Linked DNA regions of Homo sapiens: all the other regions are linked to region 6. Evidence: promoter capture Hi-C in 16 types of primary human blood cells and fetal thymus (Javierre and others, 2016). All regions are on one chromosome and are shown on one strand. Each heading gives the region's core, a stretch centred on a gene start or on the middle of the fragment in contact. The rest is flanking DNA. Distances are from core to core; before and after follow the strand shown.

What was found. The method cuts DNA at HindIII sites, captures the fragments that hold promoters and counts their contacts. A CHiCAGO score of 5 or more calls a contact.
Region 1: a contact is called between a fragment that was not itself captured here and the fragment with the promoter of NSUN6 in region 6, in 2 of 17 cell types (M2 macrophages and M0 macrophages). The highest score is 8.5, in M2 macrophages.
Region 2: a contact is called between a fragment that was not itself captured here and the fragment with the promoter of NSUN6 in region 6, in 6 of 17 cell types (total CD8 T cells, activated CD4 T cells, M2 macrophages and 3 more). The highest score is 15.7, in total CD8 T cells.
Region 3: a contact is called between a fragment that was not itself captured here and the fragment with the promoter of NSUN6 in region 6, in 1 of 17 cell types (non-activated CD4 T cells). The highest score is 5.6, in non-activated CD4 T cells.
Region 4: a fragment that was not itself captured here is called in contact with the fragment with the promoter of NSUN6 in region 6 in 1 of 17 cell types (endothelial precursors); the score reaches 7.5 in endothelial precursors.
Region 5: a fragment that was not itself captured here is called in contact with the fragment with the promoter of NSUN6 in region 6 in 7 of 17 cell types (naive CD4 T cells, activated CD4 T cells, non-activated CD4 T cells and 4 more); the score reaches 9.4 in naive CD4 T cells.
Region 7: a contact is called between a fragment that was not itself captured here and the fragment with the promoter of NSUN6 in region 6, in 2 of 17 cell types (total CD4 T cells and M0 macrophages). The highest score is 6.7, in total CD4 T cells.

The regions. Positions count from the first base shown.
Region 1 is chr10:20,773,371-20,776,070 of GRCh38, forward strand. No RefSeq gene overlaps it. Among named protein-coding and RNA genes, the nearest start is that of NEBL, 120 kb to the right of the region's middle. The HindIII fragment of the contact is 4,812 bases long and covers 1-2,700 here.
Region 2 is chr10:15,839,073-15,841,772 of GRCh38, forward strand. It overlaps MINDY3 (MINDY lysine 48 deubiquitinase 3), which reads right to left. Exons shown (of 15, transcript NM_024948.4): 4 at 2,354-2,527. The region is part of intron 2 of LOC124902383 (a long non-coding RNA gene); the gene reads left to right. Among named protein-coding and RNA genes, the nearest start is that of MINDY3, 20 kb to the right of the region's middle. The HindIII fragment of the contact is 1,691 bases long and covers 539-2,229 here.
Region 3 is chr10:16,515,987-16,518,686 of GRCh38, forward strand. All of the region lies in intron 1 of C1QL3 (complement C1q like 3), which reads right to left. It also overlaps a transcript of PTER not described here. Among named protein-coding and RNA genes, the nearest start is that of C1QL3, 4.5 kb to the right of the region's middle. The HindIII fragment of the contact is 4,225 bases long and covers 1-2,700 here.
Region 4 is chr10:20,813,471-20,816,170 of GRCh38, forward strand. NEBL (nebulette) reads right to left here. Exons shown (of 28, transcript NM_006393.3): 22 at 2,155-2,247; 23 at 469-573. Among named protein-coding and RNA genes, the nearest start is that of NEBL, 82 kb to the right of the region's middle. The HindIII fragment of the contact is 1,290 bases long and covers 634-1,923 here.
Region 5 is chr10:16,442,199-16,444,898 of GRCh38, forward strand. The region is part of intron 1 of PTER (phosphotriesterase related); the gene reads left to right. Among named protein-coding and RNA genes, the nearest start is that of PTER, 6.5 kb to the left of the region's middle. The HindIII fragment of the contact is 8,086 bases long and covers 1-2,700 here.
Region 6 is chr10:18,650,279-18,652,978 of GRCh38, forward strand. It overlaps NSUN6 (NOP2/Sun RNA methyltransferase 6), which reads right to left and starts at 1,309. Exons shown (of 11, transcript NM_182543.5): 1 at 851-1,309. The coding sequence starts at 925. RefSeq lists an enhancer at 1,449-1,548. The HindIII fragment of the contact is 3,002 bases long and covers 687-2,700 here.
Region 7 is chr10:21,506,386-21,509,085 of GRCh38, forward strand. No RefSeq gene overlaps it. Among named protein-coding and RNA genes, the nearest start is that of MIR1915HG, 10 kb to the left of the region's middle. The HindIII fragment of the contact is 3,213 bases long and covers 1-2,700 here.

The sequences.
Region 1 (2,700 bases), core at 85-2,584, 2.1 Mb after region 6:
TGATCGCAGAAATTTTTCTTACACAATGTTAAATGGGTAAAAAGTACAAAAAGTTTCTATAAGTATTGCTAAAAATGTATGCATGTGTGTAAAAATACTCTGGAAAAATATTCATCAACACCCACAATTCCTGATCATGAATCTCCCCACGTATTTTTTTTTCTTCTCTGTACTCTTCTGAATGTTCTCCAGTAAGGCGGGGTTACTTTAAGTAGAAAAGCAACACATCATTTTAAAAATGGAAAAATAAGCCAGGCACGTGTCTCACACCTGTAATCCCAGCACTTTGGGAGGTCGAGGTGGGTGGATTGCTTGAGTCCAGGAGGTCTAGACCAGCCTGGGCAACATAGTGAGACCCTACCTCTACAAAATTTTTTTTTAAAATATCAGGCAGGCATGGTGGCACACACCTGTAGTCCCCACTACTCAGCGAGCTGAGATGGGAAGATCACTTGAGCCCAGGAGTTTGAGGCTGCAGTGAACCATGGGCACACCACTGAACTCCAGCCTGGGTGACAGAGTGAGACCCTGTCTCAAAAAAAAAAAAAAAAAAAAAAAAATGGCATGGGAAGGAAAGAAAAGGAAGGACAAAAATGAAGCACACACACTTGAGAAAGGGACGATCTATTGCAACATGCCACAAATCTGCCTTACAGGCCCTAGTCTGAGCCCTGCTGGCATCATGTGTAGCATCACATGTGGAAGAAATATGTATTAGATGTTTAAGAAATCCAAGTTAAAATGCCATTAAAAAAACAGATGAGAAGTCCCAAGGCAATCTAACTGCCCAGTCTACAAGAGGACCAGATGGCAGCCTAGAGCGCCATACTATACTCTACTTGGGAAAAGGAAGTACTGGACTTGGAACAGGAGAAGATATTCTGACTTCCTATCCATCCCGTGAAGACCTTGTTCTTCTTTTATCTTAATTTGCAGGTGCAGAGTCTTAAAGAAAATGAGACACTGACTTCCTGGCCTGAGATAGGAGAGTCTAGACTCCATGAAGACTTCTGCTACTCCAAAGCATCCTTGCTGTGGTTTGGGTGATCAAAGTCAGGCCACTGCTTGGGATCACGCTCCTCAGGGCATATAGCTGGGCTGATGACCCTACTGGGACATTAAAGGAAAAAGAAGGGCAGCTTCAGACAGGCGCTCATTCCTGTCCTCCGTGTATTAGGTAGATTTGGAGTATAGCATGGGAAGCAGAGTGGGGGACGGAAGGGACACAACGGCAAAAGACAGAGAGGGGAGCTGGGGTTTTATCTGCCCTTCAAATCAACTGCCATTTGACTAAGTTCCCAGTTGGCTCAGGTCCTCGTCTTCCAATCTGTAAAATGGCACACTTATGCGATGTCCTCCTGAAGGTGGGGGTGGACTAAAGCTCCCCGACTGCCTGAAAACCCGTGAGTCTGAGTAATGTGCCTGGAAGTGGAGAGATACTGCCGGCTGAAACTCATCTGCCTCAGTAGTATTCAGCAGAAAACAGAGGGTCTGCTCAGTTTCCCTCTGACTTCCGTAAGTTTCTCAAACATAAAAAAAAAAAAAATCGACAAATGGCTGAGGAATCATAGAATCCCAAAATCAAGGAATGTATCCCTTGATACATTCCATAACGCATGAAGTCAATTTTCAGCATTTTCCCAGTGCTTTCTAAATCAAGAAAGGCTAAGCTACAAAACAGAGTGCAGCATTATTTTGGAGACATCACTAAACTGCAAAGGCATGAGAAAATAAATAAGGACGACCTGCGGAGATTCTACTTCCTGATTCTGAGATAATTATTATTAATAAGTAAGGAATAATAACTTCCTGATCCTAAAATAATTTTGAAAGATACATTTCTGCTTGAAACTAAAACTTTGACTTTTTCACCGAAGTGAGATATTCGGAGTTTCAGGTCTGCCTTGGCTTCAAATGTTTTCTTCCTTCTCTTCTCTGCCAAAGATGATCCCGTCCCACAGATAATCACTTACCTGTCAGGGTCACCTTCGGCATTAAGGCTTCTCACTTACTGCTAAGCCCCATCCTCCCCAGTGGATCATAATCCAGCTCTTTGATCTGTGCATGAATATCATTAAATTGACTGTCAAATTCTTAAAGGTTATGTATATTATGAAACTACTATTGAAGTGTCTCAGTGACAATCAAGTAACTTATATCAAGACCAGAAGCCCTGTTCAAAGCTCTGAAAATGTTTTAGTGTTTTCCAAACATGAAACCTTTGAATGATCCTAAGAGGCTGCACAATATAATTATAGTTCTTATACCATAAATATGTTTTGTTTGCCGGTTTTGAAAATAAATCATCCCAGGGACCCAACCTCCTACCCAACCTCCACGTCTTTCTAGGATGTAAATCACAGAAGATGGAAAAATCCCCCCTGGGCCTGCTTCTTGTTTTTCCAGCTAGAGGTTGGTTACAGGTAAAAGCCACATTGAAGTGCTGGAGCTGTGGCCCAGACACTCCTGGAAGGAGGCTTGGCAGGTGAAATGCACAAAACAAGTTTATCCTGCAAGATTTTCAGGCTCCTTTCCTCCCAGTCCCACTGAGGTGAACATAAACAGTGGAAATATGACTTGTGAATAAATCCTGAGTTACAATATAGATGTGACACTATAGTTAGATCATAAGAGCTAACTTTTTAAAAATTTTTACAAAAATCAACATACCAAAAAGATGTAGAGGTCCAGAAATCATTT
Region 2 (2,700 bases), core at 134-2,633, 2.8 Mb before region 6:
TTATCACAATGAATAACTTCACATATATTTCATAAAGCAAATCTTACTACTATCAAATATAAATTCTCACTGGTGAGTTAAGAAAATTGATTCATTATGAAGTCAAAATTTTAGATTTTTATTTACAATTTAAAATGTCACATTATGCTAGCTTTCCAAAGCCTAGTTGTGAGTGTTTCATATTTCGTTTTAAAATCTTTAGCAGTCCAAATGTATTAAGTTATTTCTTGGTTTATGTGGGAAACAAACTGAAATTGAACCTGAGTATTCACTACTGCGAACAACTGTGCATTACCAACAAGCCAAAACTATACACACCACATAAGCCAATGAAATTAATGTTTGTAGAGAAAGTAATATTAACAAGAGGGGAAAACACTTTACATTAAAACTTTCAGAAAATGAAAATTCTACCTAATCTTTTCCAAATTATACTGCTTGTTCTGCAACATTAGATTATCTAAATAGTTTTACTGGGTATACTACAAGAGTAGACATAAAGATAATAATTTAGAGAAAAGAGGCAAGCAAAATAAAAAGCTTAGCAGGCAGGGATGGTGAAAAAATATAAAACACAAGAAAAAGAACAAAGCTGGGAATAAAGGAAAGAACAGGTAAAATAGATTGTTACACGGAATAAAAATTGTAATATAAATACAGTTCATTTGTCACTAAGGTAAATTCTCAAATTTTCAGTTAACAAAGTATTTCAAATGTATACATTATTTAAAAAATTTAAAATATGGTTTACTTCATGGCAACTTTTAAAATGAGATACAAAGTAAACTGGAAAAATTACTAAAATGTTTTCTGGAGGGTAATTCAATATAATATGCCCATCTAAATTAGTTACTGAAGTACCAAAGGGAATGCATTATAAGGCCCTTTAACCTATAGCAACGTGACGTATCACCACAGAACTGCATAGCATATTTCATAGTATGCACTCAGTATACTGTTAAGATACTAATGGAAAATGTTATATAAAAAGATCTTACTATTTTCTCACATCAATATACAGACTGGCTTTAAGCACAAAATCTTTAAAATACCTTTTCAAAAGATCAACAATTCCTCTTTCAAAATTTTAATATCCTAAATGAACCTATTAAGTGTGCTAACACCCACACAGTAAAACCTGGAGAATATGTTAAAACCAATCTTAGTGACACTTTGGACTAGCATCCTTGTGACTGTTTTCCACTTGTTGTCTTCAAATGTCATTATAAACTCTAAAATATGTTAAGTTCTTTTTGAAAGGCCATATTTCAAAGGCTTCAAAAGGAAGCATCATATAGCTGTTCAAATGTTCAAAATTATTCCTTGCAAATGTTACTACTATTAGAATTTGCCAGGCTTAAGGCATTTTAACTGCAGAGGTAGGAGAAAAAAGACACTGACAACACAGAGGCATTTTAGTCCAGGGAGGCAACAGCACCTTATAGATAATACTATATGGAAAGCAAAATGTGTATCCCATACAATTGAAGTGTACTTTCAGGTACGTAATCTCTTTACGAAAACTTTCCACAAAGATGATAGTTAATGTGATGCTCTGTGGGTAGAATAAGTCACTTATTTAACATAAGCACTTGGGACTACCAATTATAAAAAACCATCAACTAGCAAGATTATTCCTGAAAAGCAAATCAGAAAAGCAACTCTTAACTAGCTTCCGTACCACTAGCTGTCTCCATTTCACACTGGCAGCTTTCGGGTCAATTACATAACAATTTTCAAAAGTTAAAAACCACAGAATATATAATTTTTATGAATAATGAGAATAGCTATTATTTAACGTAAACAGCTATTATTTAACTTATCTTCAAGGTATGAAAAACTTAAGGCATAATTAAAATTGCCTTAAAATAATCTATATGTATAAAAATATCCAAATAATTCGGAAAGAAAAGAAACAGCTTGCAATGAGGAGAAATGTCCCCATCTTTGCTCTGGGAAGCAAGTAAAGATAACTTTATGAAATCTTCTGATGTCCAAAAAAATCCGTTTTTGCAATACCAAAGCAAAACATTAAGGCATCTGAAACTGAAGCATATCATTATTTCTAAATAAGAGTTCTAAAGCTCAAAAGAGATTATTATCAAGCAGAAGTTAACCAGAACATTTTTAAAAGTTTAAGAGATGCATTTTTTTTTGCAAAAATGTAGTATCTTCTAAGTAGTTAAAATAAATGATATGGAAATAAAAAATAGTGAGGCTCAGTAATTAAGCTTAAGCTGGAAAAGAATACATGTTATGAAAATTTTAAGTAATTTTTTCTTCAAAATATTCAATAGATTCATTAAAACAAAGGAACAAGAAAAAAACTTCAGGAAATAAAAATATATCTTACAAGAATGTTCCACTTGGCAACTAGACTCTGCAGGACTCCCAGAAATACTAGCAGTTTCCTCAGTTGTCTTTCCTCTTAACCATGAAACCAAGCAGTATGATCCAGAGTGGTCACAACAAGCACTTTCTAAAATATCACACAAGGTATGACAAAGGAGTTCCTTCTGCTCTTCCTCTAAAAATAACCAAAGCATAAGTTATAATGGTTTCCTCTGGAAAAAAAAAAATTCTGTCATGAATAACAATAGTAAGAATGGGTTAATGATGAAAATCAAGCATTTTAAAAATGGGGGAAAAATCTCTAAATAGATTTTAAATTATGTCTTAGAAAAACAATGTGTTTGTGGA
Region 3 (2,700 bases), core at 186-2,685, 2.1 Mb before region 6:
TGATGAGTTTTCCAATTAAATTTTCTTGTGATATAGTCTCACGTTAATGCTGAAATGTTAAAAAAAGAAGACTCTTTAACACTGCTGAACTTGTAAAGTCATTTGAGTAGTATCTTTAAAGTGTCTTTCTGGGTATCACATAGCAAAAGGAGAAAATGGCTTAAAGGATTTAGAATTGCTTAACGCTGTACTAACAGGCACTAATATAATGAAAGCAATATACCATGTAATTATGCTTGGAAGCACTGACTCCAATATATATGCCAATTTAGTAAAGTGGTCCGTTTTGACCATTAAATAATGACGCAGTTTGACTTCATAATATTTTCTAAAGATTAATCATGAGTTTGTAGGAGTTGAATGCTTTGATTCATTAATTTCATCTAGCCATTAATTCCCAGGGAAACAAATCTACAAGAAGGATATTGCTATTATGACTTGTGTTTTTTTCTCATCTTTGGATTTTTAATGGTGAAAAAAATTAAAAACAAAATATTCATGAGCTATATTAGTAATACATTAGTTATCAACCCATAATATACTCCTCAGCTATTACTAATAACCAGACATATTTTATTCAGTGCTTTGGGTATTTAGGACATGTTCTATGGTTACTGGGCTTTAACATGGTTTTCTACATGAAGGTATTGGAGAAACAGGACATACTAAAATTACTTGATTTAGACACAATAATCCTTTTAAAAATATAATGCCATTTTTATTCTCCAGGGTGTAACCACAAAACCGAGTGAACGTCACCATTTTTATTCAGTAGGCGTAACCACAAATTCCTGCGAATGCATTAGAGTGATTCCACAGACTGAAAGGTTACCCTCACAGTTTCTACCACCTTTGTTGGATCAAGCCAGTGTGGTTGCTTTTTAATGAATGTAATTCTGTAAGATTTTAACCTATACTGTACCGTAAGACTGTCCCAATTAAATAATTGCCATACTCCAGTGTACCTGGCATGATTTTGGTATGGCTGCTCACCTGATCCTACTCTAAAGATATAACAGGACTTGAAATTTCAAGCTCTAGTATTCAGCTCAGTGACTTCAACAATTCTTTCAAGCCATCAAACTATTGAGGAAGGCAATGTGTTCACCCTGGAGGCTGTTTCCAGATTCCTAAATGTACAGTGATTTCAGCATTCTGTCTGGGAATAAGATCCATCCTTCCTTCAGCGCAATCAACCGATTTCTACCTGAATTTACTCTAATATCTTTTCTTATTACAAGATAACTATTTAGATTCTGCTTTATGTTTAGTCCGTATTTCTTTAACCCTAAAAAGATTATGAATTTGACATGTCATTGATCTCTCTAATAAGCGAATACCAACCCACAAACCACTCATCCTTTTAAAAATATTTCATGGGCATCGGTGCCATAACTAATAAATTTTTAAGAGTACCAACTGGTCTTTAATTATTTTATGCTTTTAATCCTGAAACAGTATTAGTTTTCATTCGAGTGGCTTATTTATTATAGTGGCATTAGAGTGATTGTATTCAAATAGCAATTTTTCTTCATGTTTTCTGCTAAAAGGATTATCAACATTAAAGAGATTTCCTCTTTCCAAATGTAAAGCTATTTGAGTTGAACTTTTACCTTTAATATGCACTGTCATGGGCTTTCAACAAATGGTAGGATTAAATTTAGGTTGATGGCTTCATGGGGAGTATGAGAGCTGCGGTCATTTTAGGGATATGTTTCTGTGTCTGCAATAGGTTTCATAGTTTTAGCATTATCTTATTAGTGAGGATCTATCATTAGAGATCATATTTATGGTGACATTTGTAATTTAATTAATTGCTACTGATGTTCTCGTAATTTCATTTTCATTGTACTTCTGTGGAATCATAAACAAAAGGTTAAGTGGCACATCAGGTTAATTTACTGGTCTTTGATGTTTCCATCTGTGATCTTACATTCTACACAAAGTATAAATAAAATGGCTCTCATATGGTTACAGTCCAGAAGCATTTCTCTCTCTTAGAGGGAACTGCATTTTTAGTTTAATTTTTGTGCTTCTCAAAATCCACTTAATCCATAGAACATTACACTGACATGGATCTCTGAGTTTCTGTTTTATGAAAAATTAAGTCAGCTCAGAGAGGGAACCTGCCATTCTAAGAAGTGATCAGACCAGAATATAATTGAAAAGCAAGAGTGAAGTATTATTTAAAATTAATAAAAAGATTTTAAAAGATTTCTCATTTGTAACTGCCTGCAGACTGGACTTGACAAAATAGTTCTAATCTAGAGATAAAATTCCTTAACTGTAGTAGTGTAGTAACCATTTTCCAAAATAGTCCACACTGAACTAAAAAAAAATGTTTACCACTATAGATTTATTTTTCTGAATTACCTGTTGCATACCTTTTGCAGAAGTAGCAGCTTAATATTACCAATGAAAAGACTTATACATTATAAGGTCAGCTGTTTTACCTTACTATTTTTCCTGATCCTCATGGAATGTGTGTGCTAGTGTGATACAAAGGAAGATTTTACACCCCAAACAGTGAAATAATTTTAAAAACAAAACGCACATAGAACACCTACATGGTGTTATTTTCTTCAAATCAGTGTAATATACACAGGCTCAGCAGTCTAGACATCAACATTTAAACTAATTTAAATGTATTAATCCCTTCTTTTTTCATGCAATTGCAATTTCCAGATATTTAAAGATGTG
Region 4 (2,700 bases), core at 29-2,528, 2.2 Mb after region 6:
GTGTAACTGTAAATTATACTAGAAACCATTGAATTGAACACTTTAAATGGGCAAACTTTATGGTAGGTAAATTACATCTGATAATATAATTTTTAAAACACACATTTTTAAAAACACAGCTTTAAAAACACACTTCTTTTCATATCCTTTATGACAGGCAAACAGACCAAATTTTGTCTTAGAATTAATTGGAAAGAAGTCTACACAAATATCTTTCACACTATGAGTTTACAGTAGTCACGTTAGAAATAAAGACACACCAGAAAAAGTCACTGAGAAAAATCATTTTATTAGACTAAATGTTTCCACTGCATTTCAGTGTGATTAGAAATGCCCCTCCCTCAAAAGACAAGCCAACCACATTTCCATGCTTTGTTAGTTATCGGATTAATAGTGAAGTAATGCCATCCGTGCACTGGATCCGCCCATTCCTTAGCATGTTTTAAGAATGATCTGGTTGGACCCTACCATTGAAATATGATTTTGTGCTTCTTTAACATGTCTCATAGCAGGTGTATCTAAAATCAGACTTGGTCTACCTTTCATCTGTTTATGGTCCTGGGTATATTTTACCTGCAAAGTAAATAGTAGGCATAAGACAATGATAAGAAAACACATGATGTAACATTTTTAAGCTTTACAAATGAGTGAAACATATGCAACATACTTGAAATTATTTTCCAGGTAACTATTTCAGTGAATTAAATTTTGTTCTAGAATAGCAACCTAAAATTTTACAATCAAAGATCTCCTCCACCGCCTACTGCTAAATGACCTAAATCTATCAACTCTAAACAAATGTGTGAATGACCAATAGTAACTATCTATCTAGTCTGTAAACCTGCGCAAGCCCGAGGACTCGTATCTGTAATCACAGCACTTTGGAAAGCTAAGGTGGGAGGATGACTTGAGGCCTGGGATTTGAGACTAGGCTGGGCAGCACAGTGAAACCCCCCATCTCTACAGGTAAAAATTAAAAAAAAAAAAAAATTAGTTGGGCGTGTGCCTGTAGTCCCAGCTACTTGAGAGGTTAAGACAAGACAGCTGCTTGAGCCCAGGAGTTCAAAGCTGCAATGAGCTATGATTGTGCTATTGCATTCCAGCCCGGGCAACAGAGACTGTGTCTCAAACACACACATACACACATACACACACACACACACACACACAACTGGTTATCATATTTAAGTTAAACAGAGAAAATCCAAAACTATTAAATAGAACCCAAAGTTATTTTGTTTCTAAATTTCCCAATTTTCTACCATAAGAGTGTTAAAAAATGCATACAAGCTACTCTATTTCTTTTTATTTTTTTCTCTGCTTAGGGAATAAGAAACAATGAGGAACAAATTTAGTTGTTCTTCTAAGCAGCCACAACTTAAAGGTAATTTATGTTAAATACACACAGCATCTCTGGACAGAAATGTCACTAGGAAGCTGTAAATTGCAAAGCCTAAATGCTGATTCTCAGGCAAACAGCTATTCAGGGTATGCTAAGAAAAGGGCCTGTGTTCTTCACAACTGCCCATCAGAACACCGCCATTTATGAAACTGATTAGGTGTAAGATATGGATACCACTTACTGTGGACCTGAGGGCATTATGTACAATTCAGAATTGAAGCCCTGATATTCACTAAGAGGAAGCACAATATTCAGATAAGATACTCATGTACACCACTGGACTTTGGTGAGCAACTGAATTCTACGTTAACTGTATTTAAGGATTCTTTTCTGTAAGTCTTTAGTGGGGGTAATGATCCATCTCCTATTTTGTTTTGCAGACAGCATTTAACAATCCATGTTCAATGAAATATTTCAGGAAAATGACAATTATTTAACGCACACATCAAAGGCTTTACCACCTTCAAAGACACGGCTAACATATCATGAATCGTTGTTTAAATGAATATAATTTTAACCTAAGCTTTGAATGTAACTGTTGGTCACATCTGGAAATAACAAAGAGTTGCAAAATAATGTAAATGTTTGCAGTGGCAGCTTTTGGAAGTCATCTGAAATAACACATGTACTTATTGGACACATCACAAATGTTTCTTGAAAATAAGTTTTATTTTCACAAGCAAAGGAGGACCGCAAGTAAATAATAAAAGACACATCCTTTGTGATAGTCTAAAATGAAGAAAACCACTTGCCGAGCTAATATTTTCTTGATTCTTCTTCACTCTTTCCATTTCAGGAGTTACACTTAAAGTGGTAGCTCTTCCCAGCTGACCTCTGTAATAAACCTATCATTTCAGAGAACAAAAAATAGAATACTATGAATCAATTCAACAAAGAGACTTATTTATTTATTTAAGACAGGGTCTTGCTCTGTCACCCAGGCTGAAGTGCAGTGGTACAATCTTTGCTCACCACAGCCTCGATCTCCCAGGCTCAGGCAATCCTCCCACCTCAGCCTCCCAGGTAGCTGGGATTACAGGCACCTGCCACCATGCCTGGCTAATTTTTGTATTTTTGTAGAGATTGAGTTTTGCCATGTTGTCCAAGCTGACCTGAAACTCCTGGGCTCAAGTGATCCACCCACCTCAGCCTCCCAAAGTGCTGGGATGACAATCCTGAGCCACAGTGCCTGGCTCACAGTATTTATTTTAATGAGTTAGTCAGGGAAGTTTTGTAGGAAACTACAAAAAATATTTTCAGAGGTTGAGTTGTATTTAAAATGCTGGCATCTTAAATCA
Region 5 (2,700 bases), core at 158-2,657, 2.2 Mb before region 6:
TTACTATTTTCCAAATTATTTGTTTGTTGATTTTTAAAAACATTTTTTAAATTTTCATAAATTCTCAAAGTTATCTCATGTTTATGCCTTGACAATTCGACATGTCTCATCTCCTACATTCTTGCATATCTGAAAGGTTAGATGTTATCAGTCTTGCTCTCTAACAGTTTGGAGGACAGATAAAGCCCGACCATGTAATTGAGAAATTGAAATAAAGATTTATTTGGTCAGAGCCCATGCCCTGAGCTGTCATCTGATTGCCATCAGAATTTGTTTAAAAGTGTTAGGTTGGCCATGCACGGTGGCTCATGCTGTAATCCCGGCACTTTGGGAGGCCAAGGCGGGAGGATTGCTTGAGCTCAGGAGTTCAAGACCAGCCTGGGCAACAGTGAGACTCCCATCTCTATTAAATAAGTAAATAAGAATTAGGTTGACTTGCATGTGCCTGGCCAGCTCTTTTGACAGATTTTCTTCTCACTTTATAAATTCAGAGCCTGCAGGCCAGGCGTGGTGTCTCATGCCTGTAATCCTAGCACTTTGGGAGACCAAGGCAGGCGGACCACTTGAGGTCAAGAGTTCGATACCAGCCTGGCCAACATGGCGAAACCCCATCTCTACTAAAAATACAAAAATTAGCCAGGCATACGTCTGTAAGTCCAGCTACTCAGGAGGTTGAGGCAGGAGAATCGCCTGAACCCGGGAGGCGAAGGTTGCAGTGAGCCAAGATTGTGCCACTGCATACCAGCCTGGGTGACAGAGTGATACTCTGTCTCAAAAACAATAAAAATAAGATGAAATAAAATGTAGAGCCCCCAGGTGTAATTAAGGGCCATTTCTGTAGCTTAGATTAGATGACCTTGATTACTCACTATGTTTGTCTTCCTAGGGCTGCCATCACAAAATACCACAAACTGGGTGGCTTTAACAACAGACATTTATTTTCTCACAGCTCTGGCAGCTGGAAGTCCCAGATCAAGGTGTCAGCAGTGTTGGCCTCTTCTGAGGTCTCTCTCTTTGGCTTGTGGATGGCCGTCTTCCCTTTTATGCATGTCTGGGTATTGATCTTTTATAGGGACACCAGTCCTATTGGATTGAGACCTACCCTAACAACCCCCTTTTAACTTAATTACTTCTGTAAAGACTATCTGCAAATACAACCACATCCTAAGGTGCTGAGGGTTCGGGCTGCAACAGACAAATTTTGCAGGGAGATACAACTGAGCCCAAAATGCTCCACTGCAATAGTAATGGTCTGTTTGGAAGCTACTGTTTTTGGAGTTATTTTCTTTGATTGTTAAATTTGACCTTCCAAGTGATGACTACACATCTTTGGAGAATCTCCTCAGTTCAGGAACTTCTTTTTAACTAACATTACTTGGAGGAGAGCTTAATGCTCGTGACTTTAAACATTTATGTAATTAGGTAAAAAGGGAAGCAACATTATTAAATGACTTGGATAGAGTTCATCAAGCAGTTAAGAAAAAAATGTACATAATCAAGCGTACCTTGCAGTCTGAATGACAAACATCCAAATATTTGCTGTAACAACTCGCACATATTTTTACCAAAAATTTCCTCTCCGAATCAGAAACTTACTATGATGAGTCCATGTACTTACGTGTACCATCAAAAAGGGCCAGAGGATCGCTAGAGTATGCTGTGGTCCTATCTGCTCTTTCTATAAAGTGGTATCTTGTGCTCATCTTGCTTAAATATGTTGTGTCTTACAATTATCACGATACTATCAACTGAAAACAGAAAGGTCTGTGAGAAAAGATGTGAGCCTAGGAAGCTAAAAACTTTTTCTTTTTTTTTTTTTTTTGAGATGGAGTCTCGCTCTGTTGCCATGCTGGAGTGCATTGGCGCGATCTCGGCTGACTGCAACCTCTGCCTCCCGAATTCAAGCGATTCTCCTGCCTCAGCCTCCCGAGTAGCTGGAACTATAGGCACGTGCCACCATGCCCAGCTAACTTTTATATTTTTAGTATATTTTCAGCATGTTGGCCGGGATGGTCTCAATCTCTTGACTCGTGATCTACCCGCCTCGGCCTCCCAAAGTGCTGGGATTACAGGCATGAACCACCGCACCCGGCCTCTTTTCTTTTTTTTGAGACGGTGTCTTGCTCTGTCACCCAGGCCGGAGTGTGGTGGTGATCATAGCTCACTTGAGCTTCTGGGCTAAAGCGATCCTCCTGAGTAGCTGGATTACAGGTGCTCAATACCTCAATACCACGCCTGGTTTTTTTTTTTTGGACAGAGGACCTACAGGGAACTTTATTCTCGTGCTTTTGTCTTCACTGGGGCACTACCCCTCGGGAAGACCAGGTTGGCTCCTGGCACAGGGATGCACCTGGTTAATTTAAAAACATTTTTTTTTAGAGATGGGGTCTCACTCTGTTGCCCAGGTTCGTCTCCAACTCCAAGGCTCAAGTGATCCTCCCACCTCGGCCTCCCAAAATGCTAGGATCACAGGCATGAGCCACCACAACCAGCTAGCAAAGCTCTTATATTCAAAGAAATATTGGGGAATGTGAAGGCACAGAAGGCCTCAGTTTGACATTATCTGTCCATATCTATAATGCATACTATCTTTGCTTCTGACGAGCTTTTACAATGTTCCCTCAGAATAGAATAATAGGGTTTTTTTTAATCCTTAAAAGAATCTTACGTAGTAAATTGGTAGTCAGAAATATTAGAGGG
Region 6 (2,700 bases), core at 59-2,558:
AGTTGCTTAGAGGCAGCATGGTAAAATGGAATAGACAACAGGCTTTGCAATCAAAGATAATCAACATTTACTGAGGACTTTAGCAAATAAAATTAACATTTTTTGAGGACTTACATGCCAAAACAATGCTAGTTGTATTCACTTACGTTTAATATCCTAAAACAACCTGGCAAGATATTTTTAACCATTCTCAATTTTTCACAGAAGAGAAAAATCTAGGTTAAGCCACGTAATTTACAAAGCACTAGAATGCAAATCATGTGCCTGAGATTCAAAAGCTGTACCTTTGTTCATTACACCTGAACTCTTTCCCTCCAGATTTCAATAGTTACTTGATAGCTGTGTCAACTTGGATCAGTTACACAATTCCTTGAGCAGTTTTCTGCTCAAGTCTATTAAAAGAGGAAAAACCTCTAAGAAAAAAAAGATTGTGAAGATTAAAGATGCAAATCTCCTAGCACAACTGCTGGCATTTAAGAGGCACTCAACAAATTACAGAAACCTTTTCACCTGAGTGCCAGAGCCAGCGCTCTTTTAAAATTCGATTCGAGTTCTTGAAGACAGGGACCTTTTCTTGTTCATCCTTGTAACCCTTTGTGCCATGCCTGACAGGCACATGCCTTTTTTCCCTTCTTTTCCACTCCTAAATGTTAAAACATATACCTTATTCACTTCGTATCTCAGTAAGCTTTAATACCTGTAGAAACATATTGGTATTTTTACACTTGATAGACAAGTAGTAAGGAACGACGGCTGTCAAGATTTCCCTTTATACTTATTTCTATTTCTCTCGAGTGTGCGAATATTTGAGTTTTTGCAAAATATCAACTAACATCTTTACTTGACCTACCTCCTTATTCATAAAGCCTTCCTTAAGATAGTTTTCAACCTCAGGTCTCAAAGATATCTTAGGGAAAATAGACATTTTTCCTGTTGTTTAGTTCTCCACCAAGAGAAATGCTGGAAAACGGTGTTTTGTTTTTTTTTTTCTTTCCGAATTAATAGTGACGAGTGTCTTGACACCAGATGCTGAGGAAAATCTTGCCGATCACGCTGAGTTAATTTCGGAAATGCAGAGGTACACGCTTTCTCAAGCCTAGCCGATTAGAAGGGGCTGCCGGGCTTCCACCACACCTCATCGAGGCAATGTTTTCTGGTAGAGATGCTCATGGAAATCACTGAGCCAATGCCACTCACGTTGCAAAGAACCAAAAAAAGAAAAAAATGCTTAGTAACTGAATCCGTGGTGAAACGGACGCAGATCAGTAAGCCAGGCTGACAGCAGCTCGGTCCCTTTATCTTTTCTATCAATTTCCAAACACGCGCCCCCTATTTCTCGGCGGAAAGTCGCTTCCGGCTTACGTCACGTCCGGCGCCTGCGGCCCACCCCTCCCTTTCCGGTCCCCCAATCCACAGCCGCAAGTTTCCCCAACACTGCGTTACGCTACGCCACGCCCCCGGAGGTTCCTAACCCTGCGTGAGGCTCTTTCACCTGCCTCAGGTTAAGTAGGCAGACCCCGCGGGCGGGATGGTCAAAGATATTTAGTTCCCGGTACCGGAGGGCTAGGTGCCAGGGGCAATGGGGAAACAGCCAAATGGCGTGGGTTGAGTGGAAGATGTTGCTGGACTGAAAAAAGGCACAGCCCAGTTGCTGTCCTGCCAGATGTCCTCCAGTTAGAGGATGAGGCCAGAATTTGGGCGCATCAGCCACCGTTTGATTTCATGACATGATTTTACCTCTCTCAGGCATACAGATCTGACTTCAGTTGTGAAGTTCATAGGGTTCATATTTTTGAAAGTTGGGCTAATGGTCTGTTAATATCCAATGCTCAGGTAAAACTTAAAACCCACAGACAGTGTTTACAGTTAGTTATAAGGCTAACTGCTACTTGTATCATAGTTGACATATTCTTTAGAGTTTGGAAGACCCTCGCCATTATTTTTTTTTCTTTTTTTTCATCATAAGCAGACAAGGATATAGATTCAAAGAACGAGGATATCTAACCAAACTCACTGAGTCATTTTATAACTGTACAGGAAAGTCAAAATAATTCTATCACCTTGACATATGTTTTTTGCAGCACACCATGGTAATTTACACATAAGTATAGGAAAGGGTTTTTTATTGTTTTTTTCTCTTTAATTTTCACACCGAATTATACACACAGACACACACACATAGAACAGGTACTTTCCATGACACACCAACTCTTTACCAGAAAGAGTAGAAAATAATGAATGACCATTATACCACACAACAACCTGCAAGTTGTTTATCATTTTCTCTGCTCTTTTTTTTTTTTTTTTTTTGAGTCTCTGTCGCCCAGACTGGAGTGGAATGGTGGGATCTCGACTCACTGCAACCTCCACCTCCTGGTTCAAGAGATTCTCCTGCCTTGGCCTCCCGAGTAGCTAAAATTACAGGCATGTGCCACCAGGCCCAGCTAATCTTTGTAATTTTAATAGAGACGGGGTTTCACCATGCTGGCCAGGCTGGTCTCAAACTCCTGACTTCAACTGATCTGACTCTCTAGCCTCCCAAAGTGCTGGGATTACAGGCGTGAGCCACCACGCCCAGCCCATTTTCTCTGTTTTAAAGAGTAAATCAAGGTTCCTAGGGTTGAAACAACTCTCCATGTTCTCACAAATAAAAAGCCAGGATAAAGACTAGTAATTTGGCTTCTAGAGCCAATACCTTGT
Region 7 (2,700 bases), core at 140-2,639, 2.9 Mb after region 6:
GGTAGCCTTCAGATCTCTCATATATCTAACTTTCACAGAAAAGGGGGAGGAGGTCAGCTGCCTCCACTCAGAGCAGCCTCTCTTCCACACGGTGTTTCCTTTCTACTGCTCATCACTTACCACAAGTATTGCGTTTTTCCTGGAGCCAACTTAAACTGATCTTAAAGAGGGCAAGCACTAACAACAGAAATTCCATTTTAACCTCTTGTGCCCTACATGTGCTTCTCCCAGCCTCCAGAATTCTGAGTTTATTTGTTTGTTTGTTTGTTTTGGTGGCTTGAGGAAAAGGAGAGTAAGCTGCCACTCAGATGGTTTCTCTTTTTTTTCTTTTCCCTCCCTTCCTTCCGTGCACTGGGGCTGGAGAAGGCCTTTGCAGAGCTGCCCTCTGCTAGCCTGGTGATATTTTAGGGTCTAAGTCAACTGACTGCTGAGCGTTTTCCATGCAAAAAGGGTCCAACACAAACGTGTTGATGGTAGTGATTAGATGAATAACTGCATCTTACTGGAAGGCCTCTAGACTGCCTGCTACTATCTCTCCACCTTTTTCTTTCTTGTTTCAGTTATCTACCCTGAAGGAAGATCCAGACAGCAGGAATTAAGGAATCAGGGACACTCTGGCATCCTAGGTACTTGGGTTGTTTCCCATATATTCTTTTTAGACTATATACATACACATCTGTGGGCAGCAATCTCTTCTGATTCTCTTTTGGAATCCCTCCCACCCCCCACATACACACCTCTCTGGCCTTAAACATTTCTTGCAACAAGGGGACAACCACTGCCCTTTCCTGCCCCGCCCCCGCCCCCCACACACACCCGGTTAGGCACCAGTCGCCCCGCAGCCATGGCCGCAGCCGGAAAAGAATAGAGAGCTCGCTGTGCTGCAATCCAAGCCGCTCAGCTCTGGGCGAAGAAGACATCGTGGGAGCTAAGCAGTGGCACAGGATAGGGCTGTTCCCTGACCAATAAAGCATTTATTCAGCTGAGCAAACGTTTTCGGAGCACCCAGCATGGCACTGCTAGGTGCTGCTGTTCGGTCCCAGGAAAATAAAGGGAGATGGCAGTCCGCAAGGCGAATGTGAGAGGAGACCTGTACGGAAGCCATCGACAAGAGTTTCACACTACACGTTTTGGGGTCGTGTTTTTCCAAGCAAACCCGAGTGATCTTTAGGGAAAGCCAAATACACTAGACGAAAACATCCTGTTATGAGAGGCAGGGACGGTGGAAGCACAGCTATCTGAGAGTGCGTTAATCAGTCAGGATAGGGGCTTGGAAGCCCAGGGCTTGAATTTGGTGAATTCGTGCAATTTGGAGCATTTCGACTTAGTATTGATCCCTAAACTCAATTTTGAAAACAGCCTCCATTGCAGAAGTGTGGGTTGTGTTATCCCAGTATTTGCATGCATCGATTGGACTAAAATAAAATGCATCATACTCTCTGCAAAGAAGGAAGAGGCAGGGACAATCACAAGAGGAATAGCAGAAAGTGCATAGTTAATATGGGTTGTACGCGAATCCGTGAAACAAGTGCCTTAAACCCAGGGGGATTTCACGTAATAGCTAATTTGGTGAGAGCTAGCGCGCAAGCAAGCAGAGGGCCATCTTAGAAGGGAAGGAAGATAGCTGAATATAGGCTTTTCCTACTGGAATTAACATTTCCTTGTGATTTGCATTAGCTAATGTCTAAACCCTCACATGCAGCCCACCTAACCCAGGTTTTCTTCTACGCTTGTAGGCTCAGTAAGGAATTGTCTTCCTTCTAACTGCACTGCCAGAGCTCAGGGGCTGCGGAGAGGCGGCTGCTGCTTTTCCCCCGACCCACTGGGTCCTAAGTGCCGGGAAAGGCCGCAGGGCAGATGCTGGGGAGGCGCTCTCCGCTTGTCCTCTCCCGGCCTGCAGGACCCCAACGGGTTCTCTCCTCAAAGTTAATCCGAGGAATCCAGCGCCTGCCTGGTTTTGCCCATACCCTTCTCAGGTCCCAACTGGGAGGAAAGGGAACTGGAGGAGATGGGAAAAGGAGATAGGAATATTTTATCTTAAAGAAGACATTCTTTTTCCTTGTTCAACACACAAAACCAAAACCCCTTCCTCTTATTTCTCCCGTCTTCCGATTCCATTTTAGTTTCTAATGGAGACTGTGTGTGTGTGTGTGTGTGTGTGTGTGTGTGTGTGTGTGTGTGTGTGTAAGAGGGAGAGAGAGGGAGAAAAAGAGAGGGCGAGAGGGGGAAAAGAAACAGGGGGTTAGAGAAAGAAGAGAGAGATGGAGATCCCTTTAAACAAAAGACAAGAGGCCTGAGCTGGGGCCTGGAGCTGTCCCCGGAGCCTGCTCTGCCCCGCAGACCCTGCGGTCTCCAGGCCCGGTAGGCTTTTTCAGGTTCCGCAGGCCTGGCCGAACCGGCCAGATCCCGCGTTCCAAGCGTCTGGAGAACTGGAGACAAAGCCCAAGATCCAATCCCACCGCAGAGCGGCTCAAGCCGGCGCCCGGGACCCGCGGGCCTAGGCGCGACCCCCAGCAGCCTGTGACCGAAGAGGGGAGCCCGGGACCCCTCCGCCTCTCCGCAGCCCTCTCGGGCGGGGTCCCCCAGGCCCGCCCGGTTCCCCCTGCCGCACTCAGCCAGCTGCTTTTGGAGGCCTGCGAGTTCCAAACACGCCTTCCCATTAATTAAAACCTGGAAAGCCTGGCCACTTTCTTCTCAGGC